Linked DNA regions of Homo sapiens: regions 2 and 3 are each linked to region 1. Evidence: promoter capture Hi-C in human tissues and cell types (Jung and others, 2019). All regions are on one chromosome and are shown on one strand. Each heading gives the region's core, a stretch centred on a gene start or on the middle of the fragment in contact. The rest is flanking DNA. Distances are from core to core; before and after follow the strand shown. Region 1 holds the start of IFNL3 (interferon lambda 3). Region 2 overlaps LOC105372399 (a long non-coding RNA gene). Region 3 has its middle 7.3 kb from the start of FBXO17.

What was found. Contacts are between HindIII fragments. The study calls those that stand out against the background at their distance.
Region 2: a contact is called between a fragment that was not itself captured here and the fragment with the promoter of IFNL3 in region 1, in 1 of the 25 tissues and cell types used here (spleen).
Region 3: a contact is called between a fragment that was not itself captured here and the fragment with the promoter of IFNL3 in region 1, in 2 of the 25 tissues and cell types used here (H1 embryonic stem cells and spleen).

Annotation. Positions count from the first base shown.
Region 1 is chr19:39,242,443-39,246,808 of GRCh38, reverse strand. It overlaps IFNL3 (interferon lambda 3), which reads left to right and starts at 1,803. Exons shown (of 5, transcript NM_172139.4): 1 at 1,803-2,021; 2 at 2,315-2,392; 3 at 2,652-2,801; 4 at 2,902-2,985; 5 at 3,079-3,256. The coding sequence starts at 1,842. The coding sequence ends at 3,177. It also overlaps the pseudogene IFNL4. The HindIII fragment of the contact is 34,684 bases long and covers 1-4,366 here.
Region 2 is chr19:39,550,400-39,554,765 of GRCh38, reverse strand. LOC105372399 (a long non-coding RNA gene) reads right to left here. Exons shown (of 3, transcript XR_935966.3): 2 at 1,410-1,620. Among named protein-coding and RNA genes, the nearest start is that of EID2, 12 kb to the right of the region's middle. RefSeq lists an enhancer at 2,059-2,148. The HindIII fragment of the contact is 3,917 bases long and covers 1-3,866 here.
Region 3 is chr19:38,980,814-38,985,179 of GRCh38, reverse strand. No RefSeq gene overlaps it. Among named protein-coding and RNA genes, the nearest start is that of FBXO17, 7.3 kb to the right of the region's middle. The HindIII fragment of the contact is 8,720 bases long and covers 1-4,366 here.

The sequences.
Region 1 (4,366 bases), core at 554-3,053:
CTTGTGTGGTTACCAGGACACCCCCAACACCAGGTCCTAACCCCGGATTTGTAGCCCCACAGCCAGCTTTGAGATTCTGTGAATCCGTGACTCTTGGATCCGGCATCTAAGGGACACCAATCCATGAGGGATTTGGTAGTGAAAGGCCCAAGGGTCCTTAACCGACTGTGGTTCTTTGGATTCCCTTACGTGTGTTTGTATTTGTGAAGTTCCTGTGCATTTGCTATTCTGTCTCCCGGTTTAAATTTATTGCCAGTTATCAAAGAGTGTTTTGATCGCATTGGTTGTTTTCCGTATGATGATTGTGAGGTGCACCTTACAGCAAAAAAAGAGGCCGAGCCAGGGACTCAGGTGGCCTGAGTTTCAGTTCTGACCCTGCCAGTTAATTACAGTGGAATTCAGGGCAAATTACTTTTCTGAGCCTCTGTTTCCTCACCTATAGGATGGGTTAGCATACTTGCCTTGTGGAGGAGTAGTGTCCGTTGAGATCACGTTTTAAACTCTCCAGCTGAGGTCCTAGTATGGTCTTAATGAGTGGATTCTATTAAATAATCACTCACATAAATACACAAACAATTGTGTTATTAATTTTTTCTCCAAATCTGTGCATTAGCAATCTGCGTTGCTGAATGCACCCCTCCTTGCCAAGGTCACACGGCTAGTGAGGGTCAGAACCAGGTTTGAACCCCAGACCCTTCATCTCCAAGACCCATGCTCTTCACCACTGCCTGAACTTCCCTAAGAAAGACGGCACCCACGTGGTGTCCTTCAAGTCCTTCGTCACACCTCAATTCTTGAGCAGAGCCTCATATTCCTGAGTCCTTCCTTGCCTGGGCAATTAAGAAATATTGGCCTCTGGGCATGGTGGCTCACACTGAAATCCCAGCAATTTGGGAGGCCTAGACAGAGAGATGACTTGACATCAGGAATTTGAGACCAGCCTTGCCAACATGGTGAAACGCCATCTCTACTAAAAATATAAAAATTAGCTGGGAATGGTGGCACAAATCTGTAATCTCAGCTACTTGGGAGGCTAAGGCAAGAGAATTGCTTGAACCCAGGAGGCGGAGGTTGCAGTTAGCCAAGATTTTGCACTGCACTCCAGCCTGGGTGACCGAACAAGACCCTGTCTCAAAATATATATATATATATATATATATATATGCCAGGAGTGGTGGCTCAGGCCTGTAATCTCAGCACTTTAATAGGCTGGGTGAGGAGGATGGCTTGAGCCCAGGAGTTTGAGGCTGCAGTGAGCTGTGATCATGCCATTGCACTGCAGTGACAGAGTGAGACCCTGTCTTAAACAACAACAAAACCAGAGCAGGTGGAATCCTCTTGGGAACATACCTTCCTGTAGGTTACCCCTGAGTCTCCATCAGTTTCTCTTTCCCTCCAGCTGCTCATCTGGCTCACTAGCCCTGCCCTGCTCTGGGCTTTCCCAGCCTGGGGCTCCCCTGGTGGCCGGTGTCTTACCTGAGGCTGTGTTTTCACTTTTCCTACATCAGCTGGGACTGCCCTTCTGTCAGGGATAAAAGCTGCCCCATGGAGCTCAGGCAGGAATTACATCCCAGACAGAGCTCAAAACTGACAGAAAGAGTCAAAGCCAGGACACAGTCTGAGATCCAGAAGAGGGGACTGAAAAGAACAGAGACTCCAGACAAGACCCAAACAGACCCTGGGTGACAGCCTCAGAGTGTTTCTTCTGCTGACAAAGACCAGAGATCAGGAATGAAACTAGGTGAGTCCCACATCTCTGTCCGTGCTCAGCTCCTGCAGCCCCTGCCCTCAGTGGGCAGCCTCTGCATTCCCTCAGCTCCCTTTCTCTCTGTGACACAGACATGACCGGGGACTGCATGCCAGTGCTGGTGCTGATGGCCGCAGTGCTGACCGTGACTGGAGCAGTTCCTGTCGCCAGGCTCCGCGGGGCTCTCCCGGATGCAAGGGGCTGCCACATAGCCCAGTTCAAGTCCCTGTCTCCACAGGAGCTGCAGGCCTTTAAGAGGGCCAAAGATGCCTTAGTGAGTCTCCCCCTGCCCTCCTGCCATGGACTAGCCTCCACCCGCACTCCAAGGGTCACCATGCTTTCCCACTCCCAGCTTCCTTCACTGGGCTAGCCTCCACCCTCCCTGCAGTGGGCTATCTCATGCTCCTACTGCAGGGACTGACTCATGTTTTCCTGAAGAAGAGGGTCCTCTACCATCCTCCCAGCAGTTAACCTCCCCTATCCTGTTGTCAGCCATCCTCCAATCCCATCAGAGTGGTCTAACCTCCACCCCTCCTGCTGGGGCTAACCTGTGCCTTTGCTGTCTAGGAAGAGTCGCTTCTGCTGAAGGACTGCAAGTGCCGCTCCCGCCTCTTCCCCAGGACCTGGGACCTGAGGCAGCTGCAGGTGAGAGGGGGAGTCAGGCCCACCCCTGCCCTCCCAGCCCTGCTCACCTGGCTCTGTAGTGGCCCCTTCACCTTCTCCTTCTCCATTGTCCCTCTCTCCTCTCCCCACACCTGCTACCCCTTCCCTCTGCTCCTACCTGACCACACTGGCTGTGCCCTCTCCCCTGTGCCTGTCACCTTCACTTGTTCCTCTCTATCCTCCTCCCCCAACCTGTTCCCCTCACCTCCCCCCTCACCTGCTCTTTCTCACCTCTCCTCAGGTGAGGGAGCGCCCCGTGGCTTTGGAGGCTGAGCTGGCCCTGACGCTGAAGGTTCTGGAGGCCACCGCTGACACTGACCCAGCCCTGGGGGATGTCTTGGACCAGCCCCTTCACACCCTGCACCATATCCTCTCCCAGCTCCGGGCCTGTGTGAGTCGTCAGGGCCCGGGCACCCAGGTCTGTGAGCTCTGAGCAGCGTCCTTCCCCTGGCCAAGGCCCCGGCTCACACACCGCCCTCCTCTGCCCACAGATCCAGCCTCAGCCCACGGCAGGGCCCAGGACCCGGGGCCGCCTCCACCATTGGCTGCACCGGCTCCAGGAGGCCCCAAAAAAGGTGAGTGACCCGGGAAGAGAGGGACTGAGGTCTGGGGAGCCACTGGGAGCCCAGAACCCAGACAGCCCCTGACCCATCCCCTCCTCCCTACAGGAGTCCCCTGGCTGCCTCGAGGCCTCTGTCACCTTCAACCTCTTCCGCCTCCTCACGCGAGACCTGAATTGTGTTGCCAGCGGGGACCTGTGTGTCTGACCCTTCCGCCAGTCATGCAACCTGAGATTTTATTTATAAATTAGCCACTTGGCTTAATTTATTGTCACCCAGTCGCTATTTATGTATTTGTGTATGTAAATCCAACTCACCTCCAGGAAAATGTTTATTTTTCTACTTTTTGAAATCCTTGTTGAAATAAACAATGAGGAAAAGACACCCATGACGTGGGACTGTGTGTGCGTTGGTGTGTATTTCCTTTGCATTGCTGCCATAACAAATTACCCTAAAAGTAGCATCTAGAACAGCAGGTTCATTGAGTCTGTGCTGTCCACTGGGGTCCCCAGGTCACATGTCACTATCGAGCACCTGGAATGTAGGTGGTGCAACCTCATTTTTTCAGTGAGTGTAAAACATACCCCAGAATTTGAAGATTTACTGTGGAGAAAAAAAAAAAAGTAAAACAGCTTAATTATAATTTATATATTCATTAGATGTTGAAATGATAGCACTTTGGATGTATTGGGTGAAATGAAGCATCTTTAAAATTAATTTAGAGCCTGGATGTGATTGCTCAAGCCTGTAATCACAGCACTTTGGGTGGCTGAGTTGGGAGGATCACTTGAGCCCAGACCAGCCTGGGCAACATAGCAAGATCCTGTCTCTATAAAAAATTAGAGAATTGGCTGGGTGTGGTGGCACAAGCCCATAATCCCAGCTACTGGTGGAAGCTGAGATGGGAGGACTGTTTGAGGTCAGGAGTTCACGACCAGCCTGAGCAACAGCAAGATCCTGTCTCTTGCGTGATCACATCTCACTGTAGCCTCAAACTCCTGGGCTCAAGTGATTCTCTCTCCTCGGCACCATCCTCCACCCTCTCCAGCCCCTCCCCGAACTGGGATTACAGGCTTGAGTCACCGGGTCCAGCCCATTCTCTTTCCAAGAAGCCCCTGAATTGTATAAGCAAACATGAGGTCTCACTAACCCTGGATAAGCCCCTACAGATGAGGAGGACAACTTGGATCAGGGACCCCTGCTGAGTAGAGTTGGCTGAGCTGCTGGAACAAAGAGTCCCCCAAATACAGTGATCATGAATTACAAACCACAGAGTGTCATTCTCCACCAGCTCCTCCTCCCAAGGTGAGCGCTCCCCCTGGCAGGATGGCCCCACTCAGTCATCCAGGGGCCCTGGTTCCTGGCAGTTCTGTGCTCCACAGTCCCCGGGACAGGG
Region 2 (4,366 bases), core at 659-3,158, 310 kb before region 1:
CCCAAGTGTTCTTAGAGAGGAGGAACAGGACAGATGTTGCAAAACATAGGATATTATTTTAGCAGCCTATAGTAGGCATATGAACAGATGCCTCACTTAGAGCTGAATAAAATGTTCACCTTTTGGCCTACCCGTTAGAGAAGGTGAGAAAATTTCAATATAATCTGTATTGCTGTAGCTATGAAGAAAGTCATCTTAAAGGTATTAATTTATGAAATTTTAAGATTTTTCACACAATTTTCAACCAATTATTTTATGTCTTTGCAAGTATCCTCCAATGTAAGTATTGGTAGGTTGATAATTACAAAAGAGTTGATTAGAAAGCTTAATACAGCACCCTTTGTGAGAGCAAAATACTAAAAACCACGCAGTAACCATCAAAACGGTCAAGTTCAATCATTTTGGATCATCCTTCTACTGGCATATTATGCAATCTTTAAAAAATGAAGCAGCAGGCCAAGCGCAGTGGCTCATGCCTGTAATGCCAGCACTTTGGGAGGCCAAGGCGGGCAGATTACCTAAGGTCAGGAGTTCGAGACCAGCCAGACCAACATGGAGAAACCCCATCTATACTAAAAATACAAAAAATTAACCAGGCGTGGTGGTGCATCTCTTTAATCCCAGCTACTTGGGAGGCTGAGGCAGGAGAATCGCTTGGACCTGTGAGGTGGAGGTTGCAGTGAGCTGAGATTGCGCCATTGCACTCCAGCCTGAGCAACAAGAGCGAAACTCCATCTCAAAAAAAAAAAAAAGAAAAATGAAGCAGCACCATAGATAGATGAATTCTCCAAGATATGTTCTTTGACTATAAATCGACTCTAGTTTCCAAAGTGTAATGTACAAAGACATTTATAACAGCATTTGTTTAAAAAGAAATGAAAGCATATATGCATATATGTATATATGAATATGTGTATAGGCATATATACAAAAAGGAATGAAAGCATATTATACAAATGAGGAAGAGGAAATATACGGTTCTCTAATGGTAGATTATCTCTGGAAGGAGAGCAGAGAAGCTGGTAGTGTTGTTCTGGGGAGTAGGAGTGAGGTTCGGGAGTGAAAGGAAGAGTTAATTTTTGACTGACTAAAATAATTTGATTCATACATGTATTTTGTCTATTTGGCCACATGAAAATGTAAATAACAGCATGAGCAGAAATGACAGCTATGGAAATGATTCTCCACCTTGGGGGAAATGGCAAGTGAACCAACCTTGACCTTGGTCAGATTTGGGAAAGAGCTGAGGGTGGCAGTGCAAGCAGAGGGTGCTCTGTGATGAAAAGCCTGGGGCAGGAGTCGTTATGGGAGATGGGTCCCGAGGGACTGGTGGGGCCAGGGCAGGGAGAGCTACCTCCTGCTCTGGGAGTCCACAGAGGCTGCATGCTGGGAGCTCCTGGGGTGCTCACCTGGTCCTCCTTGTCCAGCACTCAGATGCGCAGGTCAAATGATTGGCCACCCTCAAAGGGCATATTGTCAGATTTCACCTCACACTTCCAGACCCCCCACTCATGGCTGTTCATGGCCACACAATGACCAAAGTGCACTCGGAAATGGAAAGCGATGTCTGAGTCCTCATCCATCCCGGTGTGGAAATCCACCTGCAGCTGTGGCTCCTTGCTGAGGGCAAAGCACACGGTGTGTTGGGCAGGTCCTTCCCTTGTGGGGCACACACTTACACCAACACAAATTCCCTCCCCACTCAGAATCTCTGAGAGAGAGACAGGGGCATCAGTAGATGTCATTCCCCTGTGATTTCAATGTGCAGACAGGATGGAGAACCAGCGGGTTAGAATAATTTGTCACAGAATTGATGGTATTATGTGGCAGATACCCTTTTTCACAAGAGGTATTAGGAGGATTTGGGGAAATGCTTATATGAGTGTAGCCTAATTTTACTGGCCCAGCCCCATGAAGAAGCCCACCTTCATTTTCTTCAGTGAAGTATAAAGGGGAAAAGAAAGATACAGAGACCAAATTTCTTATTTATTAAAAGTCAGAACCTGGGCAACATGGCAAAACCCCATCTCTACAAAATATACCAAAAACAAAAAAAATTAGCCAGGCATGGTGGCATATGCCTATTGTCCCAACTACTCAGGAGGCGGAGGTAGGAGGATCAGTGGAGCCCAGGAGGTCGAAGCTGCAGTGAGACATGATTGCACCAGCCTGGGTGACAGAACAAGACCTTGTCTCAAAGGGAAAAAAAAGAGAAGTCAGTATTCGTAGACTTACAGGAAACCACAGTTTCAGTTCTGGAGAGACCTCTAGAAATAGTCCATCTCCTCAAAATATACACAAAATTTCAGAGGAGACATCAACTCAACAAGTTAACAATAGAGGAAGTACTTAGTAAGTTGCTCTGACAGGGTCCCAAAAGAACACTCAAAAGGGCCAGGCACGGTGGCTCACACCTGTAATCCCAGCACTTTGGGAGGCCAAAGGTGGGCGGATCACCTGAGGTCAGGAGTTCGAGACCAGCTTGACCAAGATAGTGAAACCCACCTCTACTGAAAATACAAAAATTAGCCAGCATGGTGGCGAGAGCCTGTAATCCCAGCTACTTGTGAGGCTGAGGCAGGAAAATCGCTTGAACCTGGGAGGTGGAGGTTGTAGTGAGCCGAGATCGCACCATTGCACTCCAGCCTGGGCGACAGAGCAAGACTCCATCTCAAAAAAAAGAACACTCATAAGAGACAAATGGTGGATGACAACTTTGATAGACAACTTCGATAGAATTTTTCACATTAACAATCTCAGAAGGCCGCCCCTGATGGCTCACGCCTGTAATCCCAACACTTTCGGGGGCCAAGGCAGGTGGATCTCTTGAGCCCAGGAGTTCAAGACCAGCCTGGACAACATGGTGAAACCCCGTCTCTACAAAAATTAGCCGGGCATGGTGGCATGCATTTGTAATCCTAGCTATTCGTGAGGCTGAGGCAGGGGGATAGCTTGAGCCCAGGAGGCAAAGGTTGCCGTGAGCCGAGATCGTGCCACTGCACTCCAGCCTGAGCGACAGAGCCAGGCCTTATTTCAAAAAAAAAAGAGGAAAAAAAAAGAAAAAAAAAACACTATCTCAGAAGAGATAGCAAATCTGGGTAAGTCTTTAGAACTTGTTTCTATCAAGATTTTGACTTGGCTGCCCTCTAGTGGGCAGAAGCCTGACCCGACAGTAAGGAGAGAGAAAACGGTGGGCTCCACTTTCCCCAGTGTTCCCAGCTGGAGTGTGGATTCTGCACAACCGTTACCAGGATGCTCTGAGTCCTGGCCTCTTTTTTTTTTTTTTTTTTTTTTTTGACAGGTGGAATCTCACTCTGCCACCCAGGCTGGAGTGCAGTGGCCCGGTCTTGGCTCACTGCAACCTCCGCCTCCCGGGTTCAAGCAATTCTCCTGCCTCAGCCTCCGGAGTAGTTGGGATTACAGGCATGTGCCACCACGCCCAGCTAATTTTTTTTTCTACTTTTAATAGAGATAGGGTTTCACCATGTTGGCCAGACTGATCTCAAACTCCTGACTTCAAGTGATCCACCTGCCTTGGCCTCCCAAACTGCTGGGATTACAGGCGTGAGCCACTGCGCCTGGCTGAGTCCTGGCCTCTACTTAGAGGTTTATGTGCAAATGTTTATTTCCAGAAATTGTTTGCAGCAGTGACTTAGGGGAAAGGACAGTTTAATCATAAGGAAGCAATCAGACGCCAGGCGCCGTGGCTTACGCCTGTAATCCCAACACTTTGGAAGGCTGAAGCGGGCGGATCACCTGAGGTCGCCAGTTTGAGACCAGCCTGACCAACATGGAGAAACCCCGTCTCTACTAAAAATACAAAAAATTAGCTAGGCATGGTGGTGCATGCCTGTAATCCCAGCTACTCGGGAGGCTGAGGCAGGAGAATCGCTTGAAGCTGGGAGGTGGAGGTTGCAGTGAGCGAGATCATGCCATTGCACTCCAGCTTGGGCAACAAGAGCAAAACTCCGTCTCAAAAAAAAAAAAAGAAAAAACAATCAGACAATCCCAGAAGTATGGGATGTTATACAAAACAACTGGCCTGGACTACGCAAAAACTCAGTGTCAAGATAGCCACAAAAAAGGAGAGGAGGCCGAGCACAGTGGCTCACACTTGTAATTCTAGCACCTTAAAGGCCAAAGCAGGCAGACTGCAGACTGGGGGAGGATTGCCAAAGGCCAAGAGTTCAAAAACAGCCTGGGAAACATATCAAGATTATCTCTACTAAAAAAAAAAAATTAATTAGCCGGGCATGGTGGCACCCACTTGTAGTCCTGGCTACTTGGTAGGCTCAGGTGGGAGTGTCGCCAGATTGAGGCTGCAGTGAGCCATGATTGTGCCTTTGCACTCCAGACCAGGAGACAG
Region 3 (4,366 bases), core at 959-3,458, 260 kb after region 1:
AAACAAAACATTATCCAGGCTCCGTGGTACATGCCTGTAGTCTCAGCTGCTCGGGAGGCTGAGAGGAGAGAATCACTTGAGCCAAAGAGGTTGAGGCTGCAGTGAGCTATGATTATGCCACTGAGCTCTAGTCTGGGCCACAGAGCAAGACTCTGTCTCAAAAAAAGAAAAAAAATGCTATGCCCAGTGTTCCCCCGGGAAGTATTATTTGCAAAGTCACGACCTGAGCCCATGGTTTTCAGAGATCCCCTGACACCAACAAGCAACTCCCCAGTCTCTACTGTCTGGATTCAGCAGGGTCGATGCCAGGGAGGACCAAAATCCCAGAATCATGGCAGGCGGAGAGCACAGAGGGCCAACACCTTTCAGTGAGGTGCAATTAACAAAACTTAATATATACAAAGTCTTAGGAAACCTCTGCCCAGAGAAGGGGGCATCTGAGTGTAACTGTGTTTCTTGTGCTTGTGAATGGGGTATCCTGGGGTGGTGATTAAGGGCTCCGGGGTCAGACCAGACTTCACCGAGGTTTTTTTTTTGTTTTGAGATGGAGTCTCACTCTGTCATCCAGGCTGGAGTGCAGCGGCACGATCTCGGCTCACTGCAACCTCTGCCTGCCCGGTTGAAGCGATTCTCCTGCCTCAGCCTCCCGAGTACCTGGGGTTACAGGCATGTGCCACCACGCCAGGCTAATTTTTGCATTTTTAGTAGAGACGGGTAAATTTTTGTATTTTGAGTGATCCACCCACCTCAGCCTCCCAAAGTGCTGGGATTCAACGCGTCAGCCACCGTGTCCGGCCATCGTTTTTGTTTAAAATATTTTTTAACACCACAGCTTCTTTCACATATTAATTTACTCATTCATTCCACAAATATATATATATATATATAATTTCTTTTTTTGAGACAGAGTCTTGCTCTGTCACCCAGGCCAGAGTGCAATGGTGCGATCTTGGTTCACCGCAACCTCCACCTCCCAGGTTCAAGTGATTCCCCTGCCTCAGCCTCCCAAGTAGCTGGGATTACAGACATGTACCACCATGCCTGGATAACTTTTTGTATTTTTATATTTCTTTATTTATTTTTTTTTCTGAGATGGAGTCTTGCTCTGTCACCCATGCTGGAGTGCAGTGGCACTCTCTCTGCTCACTGCAACCGTTACCTCGATTCTCCTATCTCAGTCCCCCAGGTAGCTGGGATTACAGGCACCCGCTACCACGCCTGGCTAATTTTTTGTATTTTTAATAGAAATGGAGTTTCATCATGTTGGCCAGGCTGGTCTCAAACTCCTGACCTCAGGTGATCTACCCACCTAGGCCTCCCAAAGTGTTGGGATTACAGGCGTGAGCCACTGCACCCGGCCTAGGCTTCTCTGTTTCTTAGCGCTATTGTCTCTACTTGTTTCTTCAGGGTAGCAAAGGTCCCTATTCCAGAGAGTTGCTGGAAGAATTAGATGTGATACTGTACCTAGATCTCTTAGCCCAGAACCTGGCACTTAAGATTTTATTTTATTTTTATTTTTTTTCTTTTTTATTTATTTATTTTGGCACTTAATATTTTAGAACTAATGATTATAAAATGTGATTAGATAACAACTACTAGAATGATGACCACTATTATTATAAAAGAACTATGGTCCGAGCCAGACATGGTGGTTCATGCCTGTAATCACAGCACCTTGGGAGGCCGAGGTGGGAGGATCACTTGAGGTCAGGAGTTCAAGACCAGCCTGGGCAACATAGCAAGACGACAGGCGTGGTTGCTGATGCCTGTATTCCCAGCACTTTGGGAGGCCGAGGATTACTTGAGGTCAGGAGACCAGCCTGGCCAACACCAGTGAAACCCCATCTCTACTAAAAATACAAAAAAATTAGCTGGGTGTGGTGGTACATGGCTGTAGTCCCAGCTACTAGGGAGGCTGAGGCAAGAAAATTGCTTGAACCTGGGAGATGGAGGTTGCAGTGAGCCAAGATCATGCCATTGCACTCCAGCCTGAGCAACAGATCAAGACTCCATCTCAAAAAAAAAAAAAAAAAAAAAAAAAAAAAAGAGCCCAGGCATGGTAGCTCACGCCTATAATCCCAGCATTTTGGGAGGCCAAGGCAGGTGGATCACATGAGGTCAGGAGTTTGAGACCAGCCTGGCCAACATAGTAAAACCCCATCTCTACTAAAAATACAAAAATTAGCCAGGCGTGGCAGAGTGCACCTATAATCCCAGCTACTTGGGAGGCTGAGGCAGGAGAATTGCTGGAACCCAGGAGGTGGAGATTGCAATGAGCCAAGATCGCACCACTGCACTCCACCCTGGGTAACAGAGTGAGACTGTGTCTCAAAAAAAATTTAAATAAATAACTATGGTGTATGGTAGACTGAATAATCCCCCCTTCTGCCAAAATTATCCAGGTCCTAACCTCTGGAATTTGTGAATGTTTCCTTATATGGCAAAAATAACTTTGCAGATATAATGACGTTAAGGTGGGTGGGGGGATCTTTGTTTTTTAGAGACGAGGTCTCCCTACGTTGCCCAGGCTGGTCTCGAATTCCTAAGCTAAAGTTATCCTCCTGCCCCAGCTTCCCAAACTGCTGAAATTACAGGTGTGAGCCACCACACCTGGCCGAAGTTATAGGTTTTGAGACAAGAAGATTATCCTGGAGTATCTAGGTGGGAGGCAACCCAGACCCCCACACGGCCTCCTGTGACACCCTTGCAGACAGTAGTCTCTCCAGGTGGCATGTGGCTTGAGAATTTTTTTGGAGCTTACTCTATGAGTCTGTGCCTGTCTAGGTATTGTGGCTCACGCCTGTAATCCCAGCACTTTGGGAAGCTGAGGCGGAAGGATTGCTTGAGCCCAGGAGACCAGCCCTGGGAACATGGTGATACCCTATCTTTACCCCAAAAAAAAAAAAAAAAGCCAGGTGTGGTGGTGCACACCTGTAGTCCCAGCTACTTGGGAGGTTGAGGTGGGAGGATCACTTGAACCCAGGAGGTCGAGGCTGTCATGAGCCATGATCATGCCACTGCACTCTAGCCTGGGCAACAGAGCAAGACCTTGTCTCAAAACAAAACAAAAAAAAGTGTGTGTGTGTGTGTGTGTGTGTGTGTGTGTGTGCCTTCAGTTCTGTGTGTGTGTGTACCTGTCTCTATCCCTACCAGGGGTTGTGTCTCTATGTCTCTATTTATATCTAAATGGATATTTTTTGTGCCCTACATTTTCCAAGAGGATTCCTTGCAAGTTTCCTTTTTTGTTCAGAAGATCTTCCTGGCCGGGCACGGTGGTTCACACCTGTAATCCCAACACTTTGGGAGGCTGAGGCAGGTGGATCACATGGTCAGGAGTTTGAGACCAGCCTGGCCAATATGGTGAAACTCCATCTCTACTAATAATACAAAAATTAGCCAGGCATGGTGGTGGGCGCCTGTAATCCCAGCTACTCAGAAGGCTGAGGCAGGAGAATTGCTTGAACTCGGGAGGCGGAAGTTGCAGTGAGCCGAGATGGCACCACTGCACACAGCCTGGGCGACAGAGAAAGACTCTGCCTGAAAAAAAAAAAAAAAAAGATTTTTCTCTATCTGGTAAGCTTTTAATTTTTAACTTTCTGCCCTCCAACTATGCACATCTTCACAGTGCAGATGTATCTCTAATTGATTAACTGGGTCCCTTGACAGCCATCACTAAGGCAAAGCTGGACTGCTTTGTTTTGGGCATTTCTTTTGTCTTCTAAAGGCTCATAATGTAGGAGTCTGCAGGGCCAGGCTCCCGGCTGAGTGCTTCGAGAGGATCATCCCAGGAGTTGCCACCGATGCAGGATTTTTCTCAGCCACATTGCTGCCCAGAGACCTCTGGCCAGCAATGCCACTGCCCTGGCCTTGCACTGTTCCCAGGTTTGTTGCAGGAGGCACCCTGCCCACTCAGCCCACCAGGGCACAGCTGGATTGCACTCTGGCATGGATCCCACAGCCACCGTGACTTTGCACTCAGCCCCTGGGTGGGAGGGGGTGTGTGAACTAGCAAGTGTGGGGTCCCACTGGCCCCTGCAAGCACTGACACAGGGGCAGGCTCCATGTAGGGTTTGTGGCTGGACCAGGTGTGTTGCAAGCGGCTCCCACTGTGTACTCTGGCGTTCAGACAAGGAGAACACGGCGGCACCCAAACAGGGAAGCCCATGACCCTGAAGTCCCAGAGGTGGTGTTATAGCATGCTAACAGCTCTGTTAGTCCCTCCACAGCCTGACGAAAGGAGGCATGTTAGTAGTTCTGTTATGTTGCCCCACTCTGGCCTGTAGCTCCAGGGCTGGCCTGGTCTTGCCACTGCTTTCTGTTGCATGGGGTGGCCGCTAGGCACCAATCGTGGGGAGCTATGGTGCTA